2 separate regions of the Homo sapiens genome follow, and region 1 is linked to region 2. The links are contacts of gene promoters, found by promoter capture Hi-C in human tissues and cell types (Jung and others, 2019). All regions are on one chromosome and are shown on one strand. The core of a region is centred on a gene start or on the middle of the fragment in contact, and the rest is flanking DNA. Distances in the headings are between cores, read along the strand shown. Region 1 overlaps LOC124905254 (a long non-coding RNA gene). Region 2 holds the start of RS1 (retinoschisin 1).

Region 1 (5,570 bases), core at 2,531-5,030, 160 kb before region 2:
AAAACCCTGTTTCTACTAAAAATACAAAATTAGCTCGGTGTGGTGGCACATGCCTGTAATCCCAGCTACTCGGGAGGCTGAGGCAGGAGAATTGCTTGAACCCAGGAGGTAGAGGTTGCAGTGAGCCAAGATGGCGCCACTGCACTCCAGCCTAGGCAACAAGAGCGAAACTCCGTCTCAAAAAAAAAAAAAAAAAAATTCTTGAAGTGGAATGATGTATAGCAACGACCCACTTTATAATGATAGAGATGGTGAAAAATTAGTAAATAGTTTCACAAAGAGGTAGCATGATACCTTTAGTGTTTTCTAGATTTTTTTCTGGATACTATATGTAGAAACTTACTATGTGAGGAAAATATTATGAGGTTTCATTGTTTAAAATCAAGAGTGTATTATTTACTGTTTTACAGTATTATTTAATATCCAACTGGTCTCCAATCTCTATTACATAGGGACTGTGCAGAGCCTGTAAAAGTGTATGAATGTGTATCTTCCATAATCCACATTATATTTTTGGTAAGCTGGAATCACTACCTCTGATCACGTATCAGGCTAATGATGGAGAAAGCATTGGATTTAAGTTCAGGGCTAAGAACTGGTTTGTTTAAAAGTTTAAATTGTGGCCAGGCACGGTGGCTCATGCCTGTAATCCCAGCACTTTGGGAGGCCGAGGTGGGCAGATCATGAGGTCAGGAGTTCGAAACTAGCCTGGCCAACATAGTGAAACCCTATCTCTACCAAAAATACAAAAATTAGCCAGGTGTGGTGGCACGCACCTGTAGTCCCAGCTACTTGGGAGGCTGAGGCAGAAGAATTGCTTGAACCCGGGAGGCGGAGGTTGCAGTGAGCTGAAACGGCACCATTGGCGTCCGGCCTGGGTGACAGAGCAAGACTCTGTCTCAAAAAAAAAAAAAAAAAAGTTTAAATTGTTTGAAAGGGCATTTGTCTTCTTTAATGAATGATGATCTCACAATTCAGTTGACTTTGACCTAATATTTAAGAGTATAAATATATTTTCTTTGAAAAGGCTGAGTGGTGCCCTCAAACACTTGCTAAAACTGCCTAGGGCAGGATTCATTAGGGCTTGCAGGACAATGTCACCTAAATTGCTGAATGTACTCATTGTAATGTGATATCTGACAGAGGGGGTGCAGTGTTTCTGGGTCATTTTGGACCAACTGCAATGGTTGTTTCAGATGCTGGTTCCTGCACACTACTCTCAATCTACTGAAGCACATCTGGTTTTTTGTTTTGCCTTGCTTTTAGTTTTTAAAGTTTCCCCCAGTGATTCCAATGCACCTGAAAAATTGAGAACCACAGGCTCAGTGGTAGGTCAGGGTTTCCCACACTAGGCTGCACAGCATTATCACCTGGGAACATTAAAAAATACAGACATTCTCAATTCTTTTAGTGTAATTAGCTATGATGTGGATCCCATGTATTTTTTAAAGAGCTCCCCAGATAATTCTGATGTCAGGAGCCACCGGTATAGACTATCTAGTGAGTTGTATTATAAACAATAAAATACTTTAAAAGCTACCCAGTAACTTTTGGGATTAATTTTATGAAATAAATTCTGAACTGCTGTTTTTGATATAGTCAGACTTAAGACTGAAACCTAGCAGGCAGGCAATAGATATAGAATTCTAGTTAATTGAAATTTTGTGACCTGTATAAAAATAAATCATGTTTATTGAACGGATGGCAAGGTACATATACTTTCAGAATTGTATTAAGTTTTGAAGACTTTTTAAAAAAATGTCAAAATGTATATATATTAGTATCCACTATCTTAAGGTCGATTATAAACCAGAAGTACTGTTATCTTGGTGATTAAAATCTATAACTTTAGCTGTATTTCAATAACAAAAACATATCTTACTAGACTGAGTGTGGTATCTCATGTATGTAATCCCAGTGCTTTAGGAGGCTGAGGTGGGAGGACTCATTGAGCCCAGGAGTTCGAGGCTGCAGTGAGCTATAATTGCACCACTGCACTCCAGCCCAGATGACAGAGTGAGACCCTGTCTCTAAAAAAAACAAACAACATATCTTACTGACTAAACCTGAATGGAACTCATAATTAGTCTTTCTGTATTTTTCCACAAAATAGCGAATTGGTACTTGGGAGACTTCTGTTTTTTTGTTGTTGTTGTTGTTGAAAAAACTGCCTTTGTTCTGAAATTATATCACCTGTGTTCTGAACTAAGATGATGGGAGTTCATTTTGTATTTACTTTGCAGTAAGTATCATGTAAATACGCAAACGTTGAATGTAATATAGATTGTGATCGCAGTGGTTTTTTGGGTGATACAGTTTATAAATATACCAATTATACACCCTCATACATTTGTCTGATTTTGAATTTGTAAAATGAGGACTACTGTTTACACATTTAATACAAAAAAAGGTCTCCGGAAAAAAAAAAAAGATGAATACTCTAAGAAAACCTTGTTTTAACATAGGGGACTAAATTTTAGTTTTGTATTAGTGTACTTTTGATCTCAAAGCTTAATTTTTAGAAAACCCTATAAATAATTCCCTTCCAATTTTTGCCAACTTGATCACATACAAAATTCTTTTTTTTTGAGACAGGGTCTTGCTGTGTCACCCAGGCTGGAGTGCAATGGCGCAGTTGCGGCTCACTGCAGCCTCTGCCTCCCGGGTTCAAGTGATTCTCCTGCCTCAGCCTCCCGAGTAGCTGGGATTACAGGCATGCACCACCACACCCAGCTAATTTTTTTATTTTTAGCAGAGACGTGGTTCTGCCATGTTGGCCAGGCTGGTCTCGAACTCCTGACCTCAAGTGATCCGTCCACCTCGGCCTCCCAAAGTGCTGGGATTACAAGTGTGAGCCACCTCGCCTGGCCTACAAAATTCTTTTCATAGGATTCATCTCCTACACACCTACAACTTGCTCAGATCTCTTAGAACTTGCTCAAATCTTGTACAACTTGCTTAAACCTTCAGTTTTGTTCTATACTTCCTTCTTTTTCATATTGGAACAACCAATCATTCTACTTTATGACAAAAATTTACTTTCCTTTTTCCCTTATCATTTTGACAACACAAATTCTTCCTCATACAAAAAAAAAATTACTTTTTCTCTTTTCAACTTTTTTTTAAGCCAAACATACGTTTTCATACTTGTAACTTTCTTGACATCCCTCTTACTGGTTCCTCCCTACCTCATTTCTATTTCCTTCCAAAATCCTTATTTTGAAACAACTTTTAAATAACCTCCAAATTAGACAAAATTATTCTTTTTAAGAAAAAAGTATCCTTCTATTTTTTCCTCACCAAAACACATCTTACTTTCTTTAGTTTGCATACAGAATTCCTTTATAGTAGTTTTATTATTGGAATTTTTAATCCTTAGCAATTGTGAATCAGTATTCTATAAATTAAGTTTCATAATTTCTAGAAATATGCACTTTCTCAAAGTACAATTTTTCATATTAACAGACCAAAATATATTTATTTTTCCATAGCTTTTCTTTAAATAGACTAAAATATATTCAGTCTTTATTTTATCTTATTTTTTGAGACAGAGTCTTGCTCTGTCACCCAGGCTGGAGTGCAGTGGCGCGATCTCACTGCAACCTCCACCTCCTGGGTTCAAGCAATTCTCCTGCCTCAGCCTCTGAGTAGCTGGGATTACAGAAGCCCACCACCGCGCCCAGCAAATTTTTGTATTTTTAGTAGAGACGGGGTTTCACCATGTTGTCCAGGCTGATCTGGAACTCCTGACCTCGTGATCCGCCCACCTCGGCCTCCCAAAGTGCTGGGATTACAGGCATGAGCCACTGCACCCAGCCATATTTAGTCTTTCTATAAAATTTAAGAAGCCAAAAATAAATTTAAAGTTACGTTCAAATTAATGTTTCAGTATTCTAACTTAATTGGAAATGACTCAGACAGTTCATGAATATTACTTAATCATAACAGGACTTTAAGTTACGGTAAAAGGTTTTCAAAACTGAAAAGTTCATTTATCAATTTGTATACCATTTACATACACCTAATTTACTCATTTTTAACAATTATGCTTGAGTTGTTCATTAAGCAAAGCTAGCCATCACCTCAAGTTATTTTTCAAAAAAATCAGGAAACTATAAGTATTACAGAAGCAAAAAGATTAATAGGTTAAACATGGTTCTTCCACTCTGCTTTTTTTCCCTTTCCTATTGGGACGGGTTAGTTCTCTTGAACTCCTTCGTGGGCGGAAACTGGAGTAGCTCATTCCACTCAGCCCGCACTGGCTACTCTTGGCAGGAGGGAGCGTGCAAGCGAGTGAGTGCAGGAACCAGAGCAAATGAATCCTGGGACCGACTGGTCACTCTTCTCTGGTGGGAGCAGGCTCTTGTGGGCCCTGCAGCAGCGTCCAAGCATGTTACGACCAATGCTCTTTCAGTTCTGCCATCCGGGGATGGCCAAGTGCCAACCAGGTCAGTGGAGGGTCAGGGTGGCAAACCCTGCCCTCTCAGAACCTGGGTTCATGTCCGATGAACTGTTAGAAAGGTGATGAATGCAGACTTTATTGAGCGGTGGGTGGCTCTCAGCAGAAAGGGAGGCTGGAAAGGGGATGGGAGGGTGATCTTTCCCTGAAGCCCGGCCGTCTCTGGCTGGGCTCCTCTCCGAAGCCGCACCGCCTGAAGTTAGCCGTGTCTATCCATAGTCTCTGACGCGCACTGCTTCTCTGCTCACCACTCAGCTGCTTGTATCCTTGACATTCAGCCACTTGTGTTGCTCTGCCAGCTGAAGTCTTTCATCGGCAAAGGATAGGGGCAGGGCAGGCCAAAAACGGCAACATTTGGCTGGAAAAAAACGGGGTCAGCTGTTTTCACTTAGGGCCAAGGTTCCAGGCTTATGGGTTGGGTTTAGCCAGGAGCCCAGCCCTTCTGTATCACCATGACTGATAGGTATCAAGATTTTTTTTTTTTTCATGTATTTTGCTCTTTGGTTGGCTTTATAGCTTTATTATACATCTAAGAGGTAATAAGCTTGTTTGACTAGTAAATTTAGGGGAAAAATATGCTTGCTTTATAATTAATGACTTTAAACACTTTTTCTTTAAGCCAATTAAATAGAGCTCTTTTATATATTTTGGTATGAAAATATCAGATACACATAACACATAGATATACAAACATACACACAGAAAGAAGCAGATCTTATTGCTTTCATTAAGATTCATTTGCCCGGTCGGGCGCGGTGGCTCACTCCTGTAATCCCAGCACTTTGGGAGTCCGAGGTGGGCGGAACACGAGGTCAGGAGATCGAGACTATCCTGGCTAATACTGTGAAACCCCGTCTTTACTAAAAATACAAAAACAATTAGCCGGGCATGGTGGCCGGCACCTGTAGTCCCAGCTACTGGGGAGGCTGAGGCAGGACAATGGGGTGAACCAACCCGGGAGGCAGAGCTTGCAGTGAGCCAAGATCACGCCACCGCACTCCAGCCTGGGCGACTGAGCAAGACTCCATCTCAGAAAAAAAAAAAGATGGACAGGAAAAGCAACTTAAACAAAGGTAAACGTTGATATGCAAGCTTTTAAGCCAGTGCCTTT
Region 2 (5,703 bases), core at 2,834-5,333:
CATGAATGGCCAAATCAAGACGAACATCCAGATCCCCACCTTAGTGTTCCCTGCACCCACCTGGTTTCTTCCAGAGGCCTTCCCAGGAAGACAGGAGTTGGCTGAAGGGAGTTCCTGCCACAAAATCAGTATCACTTATCAACCTACCGACCTCAGCAGAAGATCCAGAGAAAAGGACAGCTGCTGCCTGCAGACCAAGTTCACCTGGGCGCTTAAAGATGCCCCCCCCCCCCCGCCCAAATGATTGCAGGTGGGTTTTCAAGCTTGAGAATGGTGAGCAATCCTAGGGTGGTGACGAAGATCCACCTGGAAGCCCTGAAGAAGGCAAATGACACTGACGATGAAAAACAAGAATCACCCTTTGTGATGGAGGGTCCCAGCCCGTTACCCAGACTACAGTCCTGCAAGCAAGTCAGGGACCCCGCACCAGGTTGAATACTCTGCTGTTACCGTGTGAAATTCTCAAAAACTTAACAAGGGGCCTGGCATCTTCATTTTGCACTGGGCCCCTCAATCACGTGGCCAGGGCCGCTGCCACCCTGGAAGCCATAGACGGGTGGCCCCGTCTACACGTCTTCGTCCCCCAACCCCTGCAGCCCTAGACTAAGGAGACCTAACGGAAGCCCTGGCATTTGCACCCCCTAGGCCTGTCCTCGGGAGGGGAAGAAGGCTGCGGGAAGGGGCAGGGGAGCGGGTAGAGGTCCACACCCTCGGGCAAAGGGCCCGCTAACCAGCGGCCCGTCCTCCTTGCTCCGGAGGCGAAGCCTTCCACGCCGCCGCAAGCGGCGACGTCCTGACTTCCGACCGGCAAGTGGGCCGGGTGGCCGAGGCTCAGTTTGCCGGTTGGGAAAATGGGAAGGCGCGGGGCCCTCGCGGGCGGAGGAAGCTGCCGGGGGCGCAAAGCCCGAGCAGGGTGCACTTCCGGCCGCCGGGCCGCCCCGCCGGCGCCTCGATTGAGGGAAAGTTTGGGGACAGATGATAGCAGGGAGGTGCTCTCGGCCGGGGTTCCGGCCTCGCCCTGGTCCCAGGGGCCGCGACTGTGGCGGGCAGGGAAGACAAGCCGCCCAAACGCCGGAGCCCGAGACTCGAAGCCGCCGCAAACTCCTCGCCTCGGGGGCGGGGTCACGGTGGAGAGGCGGGGCTCCGGCGGAGGGACCGGAACTGCTGTGAGTCTATGAATAAAGTCCCAACAATATTCTTCCTCGTAGAGGTTCCATAGTGTAGTGGTTATCACGTCTGCTTTACACGCAGAAGGTCCTGGGTTCGAGCCCCAGTGGAACCATAGCCGTAAGGCGGCTGTTTTTGCTTTTATAGGGTTTCGTTGTTTGGGTTAAAAAAAAAAAAGGGTTTGGGTTAAACAAACAAAAAAAACCAAAAAGCGACAACGAAGTGTTTTTCTTTGTCCTTTTTTTCTTTTTAATTTTTTGGCATGTTTTTCTCGCAGAAGTGAAATGACAGATACCCTCTCCTATCCCACAAGGTCACTGCCGCCATAGTCCGACATGAGAAGTAGTGGAGGGCAGGGGCCGGGCGAAGTCCTAGACCCGATCCGGCGCCCCCGATCCGGCCGGGCCCTACCCCACCTCTCCTCCCAGTACGCCTCGGAAAATCGGGCGCTCGGGGAATGCACCTGGCTGCCCTTTGCCTGCAAGCCAGCAAGGGCCGGCCACCCAACCTCCAACTAAAATGTGGCAGGCAATACAGCAGCGCTTTGACTGCAGGTGAATTATTAAAGGTCGGTCATGATTATGACTCTGATTAAAAGTTCTATTTTTCATTAAACTCTGATGTGCAGAGCACGAAAAAAAAAAAACCCCACAGTCCCTTTTAATGCAGCAGTAGAATTTGTGGAATAGAGTTCATACACAGTATAAAATAAATGTCAGGCTTGTAGACATTCAATAAATACTGGTTGAATGAGCAAACGTTTCTCTAGTTTCTTTCTGTTCCTCTTTACTATTTCATTACAGTTTCCTTTGGGGAGTTTATTATTTGTTTAAATATTGGCTTTTTTATCTTTGACAAGAGGAATGAGGGTGTGGGCCATGGTGAGATGGTGGTAGCAAAAAATATAAAATGGGAAGGGGCACTCAGTATTTTTCTCTGCATTTTCAACCTAGTTATGCATCCTTAACAGTGTAGAAATTTGCGTCTTTTTCTAACTTGAGTGTAACTCTTTCCCTGTTATTACAATCACTTCATCAACTTTATTCTTTTTTTTTTTTTTGGAGGCGGAGTCTCACTCTGTCGCCCAGGCTGGAGTGCAGTGTCGTGATCTCAGCTCACTGCAACCTCTGCCTCCCGGGTTCACACCATTCTCCTGCCTCAGCCTCCCGAGTAGCTGGGACTACAGGCGCCTGCCACCTCGCCCGGCTAATTTTTTGTATTTTTAGTTGAGACGGGGTTTCACCGTGTTAGCCAGGATGGTCTCGATCTCCTGACCTCGTGATCCGCCCGCCTCGGCCTCCCAAAGTGCTAGGATTACAGGCTTGAGCCACCGTGCCCGGCCTTTTTTAAAACCACCTTAACCATTTTTTTTTTTTTTTGAGACAGAGTCTGGCTCTGTCACCCAGGCTGGAGTGCAGTGGTACAATCTCGGCTCACTGAAACCTCGGCCTCCTGGGTTCAAGCGATTCTCCTGCCTCAGCCTCCCGAGTAGCTGAGATTATAGGTGCACGCCACCACGCCCGACTAATTTTTGTATTTTTGGTAGAGACGAGGTTTCGCCATGTTGCCCAGGCTGGTCTCGAACTCCTGACCTCAAGTGATCTGCCTGCCTTGGCCTCCCAAAGTGCTGGGATTACAGGTGTGAGCCACCACCTCCAGCCCACCATAATCATTTTTAAGTGTACAGTTCAGTAGTGTTAAGTATATTCACATTGTTGTGAAACAGATCTCGGGAACTTTTTCATCTTGCAAAACTCAACTCTATACCTATTAAACAACTCCCCTTTTCCTCCCATCAACTTTATTCTGAATGGTGATGTAAAAATAATAGCTAATTATGTCTAGCACTGTGCTAAGTATTTTATACATATGATCTCTTGTAAGCCTCAAAATAACTCTCGAAAGTAGGCATTATTATCATCATCTTACAGATGAGAAAGTTTAGGCGCAGAGATATTAATAACTTGCCCTGAGGTCACAATGTAACAAGTGCTAGTGCTGCGATTTGGCACCCAGTCTGGGTTGGCAGTCTGTGCTCTTAAACCTACCAGGCTGCACTCATCTCTTGATTTACTTAACCAGCCCCCTAACCTTGGCCATTTAGATTGTTTCCAATTTGTTGTTGTTAAAAGTAACACAGCAATGCACAGCTTTGTGTTAACTGTCCTCCCACCACCACCAAATTTAGCATTTTCCTGAGTGAATAGGTGTGCACATGATGCCTAGTTGCTTTCAAAGAGGGGAATCCATGACATTTTCATACAATTCGAGAATGTTAGTGCTTATGTGGCAGGAAATTGTTCAAGGTCACCCCCTAAAAAATGATGGCGAAGAAAGGACGAAAACCTGAGACTTCTGGTTGTAGTTCTCTCCCTCCATTGCTTCCCTTACATTAAGATAGAATGAACAGTATGGGCCGGGCGCAGTGGCTGACGCCTGTAATCCCAGCACTTTGGGAGGCCGAGGTGGGTGGATCACCTGAGGTCAGGAGTCCGAGACCAGCCTGACTGACATGACGAAACCCCATCTCTACTAAAAATACAAAAATTAGCTGGGCGTGGTGGCGTGAGCCTATAATCCCAGCTACTCGGAAGGCTGAGGCAGGAGACTAGATTGAACCCGGGAGGCAGAGGTTGCAGTGAGCCGAGATGGCGCCATTGCACTCCAGCCTGGGTGACAAGAGCGAAACTCCATCTCAAAAAAAAAAAAAAAAAAAAAAAAAAGAACGAAAAGTATCTTCCTCGCGAACTGAATCTCAGTTGATGCTAGTATCTTCCATGAGACTTCCTTGTTGAGGCAGGTAACTCTGTGGGTTAACTTGATGGGGCTCAGCCAAAGACCTAAGAACTAAATGGATTAAGATGCTTAATGAGGCCAGGGCTCAACTTAATCCCCTGCTCCTGGGCCAGCTCTCCAGTTCAGTAAGGTAGAGCTTTGGCCGAGGACGAGGGGAAGATGTCACGCAAGATAGAAGGCTTTTTGTTATTACTTCTCTTTGGCTATGAAGGTATGTGCTATTCAACCATTGACATTCATTGCATACTTAATACATAATTTAATTAATATCGTTGATAAATAGGAATATAGCCTGAATAATATAAATATTATTAATTAGCAACACGTTAATTAACTAACATGTGTTATTAATGAACAACAGTTGTCTTTGTGTGGATGGCTTTCCAGTTCTGTGAGGAGCCTTCTAAAGTTCAAAGGATGCTTAAAATCCAACAGAAAACAGGATGGGTCTCAGAAATCTATAAAATAGCCATAAGTTGCAACAATTAATGAGAAAGTATGGCATATTCTGGAAAACTTTTAGGAGTCAAAGTGGGAGTGATTGTAGAATTTAATATTCCAAACCGGAATGCTATTGACGGTGGAGGACGATGCTATTAATAATTCTGTTGGGACGACAGGTGTAACCCAGGACCATCCAGGGCAAATTGGGGTGTAAGGTCAACCTAGTTTAAATATGGATTAACGTAACATACCCAGTACCACTGGAATCTAATAAAAAACATAATCCAACTGAGAGTCAGGAAACCTCGGAGACTCAGTACACTCACTCATTTTAAAATTTCTAAATATGACCCTAGCAGAAGTGATATGCTTCAATTAGGAAAAAATAAGGGCAAATCTGTAAAATGTCATCCAGTTCCAATTCCCTCTCAATCTTTGAAATAATATTCTTTCATGCCTCTCTCAATTCTCAAGTACCCATCTGCTCAGAATTTCTCCTCAGGTTCATCCAGATGTTAGAAATTGGTTGCCTGTCTTCTTTGTGGACATCGTGTATTTGTGTGTTATAGAAAATAAATTAAAAAGCAGGGAGAAGGAGGTCTCTGTGCTCTGCAAATGACCTGGTAGACAGACACAGCGAAACTCACACAAGTAGAATCAGAATTCTTGGTTTCACGGCTCACTGTAGCCTCAACCTCCCAGGCTCAAGCCATCCTCCTGCCTCAGCCTCCCTAGTAGCTGGGACTACAGGCACGCACCACCACATCCGGCTAATTTATTGTATTTCTTGTAGAGAGGGGTTTTCACCATGTTTCCCAGGCTGATGACTTTTGTTACTTAGTCACATTTCTCAGTATTTGGAAAGACTGGTGACAATATAATTCCAAGGTCATTCTGCAAACCCCAAGGTATATTTCTAAGTAGGGATCATGTAAACCAGTTGTCTGTTAGGATTTTTTCCCCTTGCAATTAATAGTCTGCAACTTGTCCCAGTAACTCTGACTACTTTAAGATGCTTTGGGGTTTTGTTGTTTTTCCTTTTACTCCTTGCCCCCTCCTCTTTCCTCAGCAAGAAAATCTAAGCAGACTCTTTCAAGGCTTAGATCTAAATACTCCTGGTTGTCAGACACTCCCAGGGCTCACTCTCGGATTTCTCTTCTTTGTGATTGGCATGGAGATTCATTCATTCATTCCTTGGTCCCTTCTTTTAAGAGCTCATCCCTGACTATCTGCTAGGGGGCAAACATTGTGTATGACGGCGGGGCGCGGTGGCTCATGACTGTAATCCCAGCACTT

Evidence for each region. The method cuts DNA at HindIII sites, captures the fragments that hold promoters and counts their contacts. A contact is called where the count stands out against the background at its distance.
Region 1: a fragment that was not itself captured here is called in contact with the fragment with the promoter of RS1 in region 2 in 6 of the 25 tissues and cell types used here (H1 embryonic stem cells, aorta, bladder and 3 more).

What each region holds. Positions count from the first base shown.
Region 1 is chrX:18,832,357-18,837,926 of GRCh38, reverse strand. LOC124905254 (a long non-coding RNA gene) reads right to left here. Exons shown (of 2, transcript XR_007068404.1): 2 at 2,180-4,817. It also overlaps the pseudogene BLOC1S6P1. Among named protein-coding and RNA genes, the nearest start is that of PHKA2-AS1, 55 kb to the left of the region's middle. RefSeq lists an enhancer at 3,989-4,912. The HindIII fragment of the contact is 5,178 bases long and covers 1,192-5,570 here.
Region 2 is chrX:18,670,488-18,676,190 of GRCh38, reverse strand. It overlaps RS1 (retinoschisin 1), which reads left to right and starts at 4,083. Exons shown (of 6, transcript NM_000330.4): 1 at 4,083-4,174. The coding sequence starts at 4,123. TRV-TAC1-2 (tRNA-Val (anticodon TAC) 1-2) reads left to right here and starts at 1,210; the gene lies at 1,210-1,282. It also overlaps a transcript of PPEF1 not described here. RefSeq lists a silencer at 1,099-1,285. The HindIII fragment of the contact is 16,600 bases long and covers 1-5,703 here.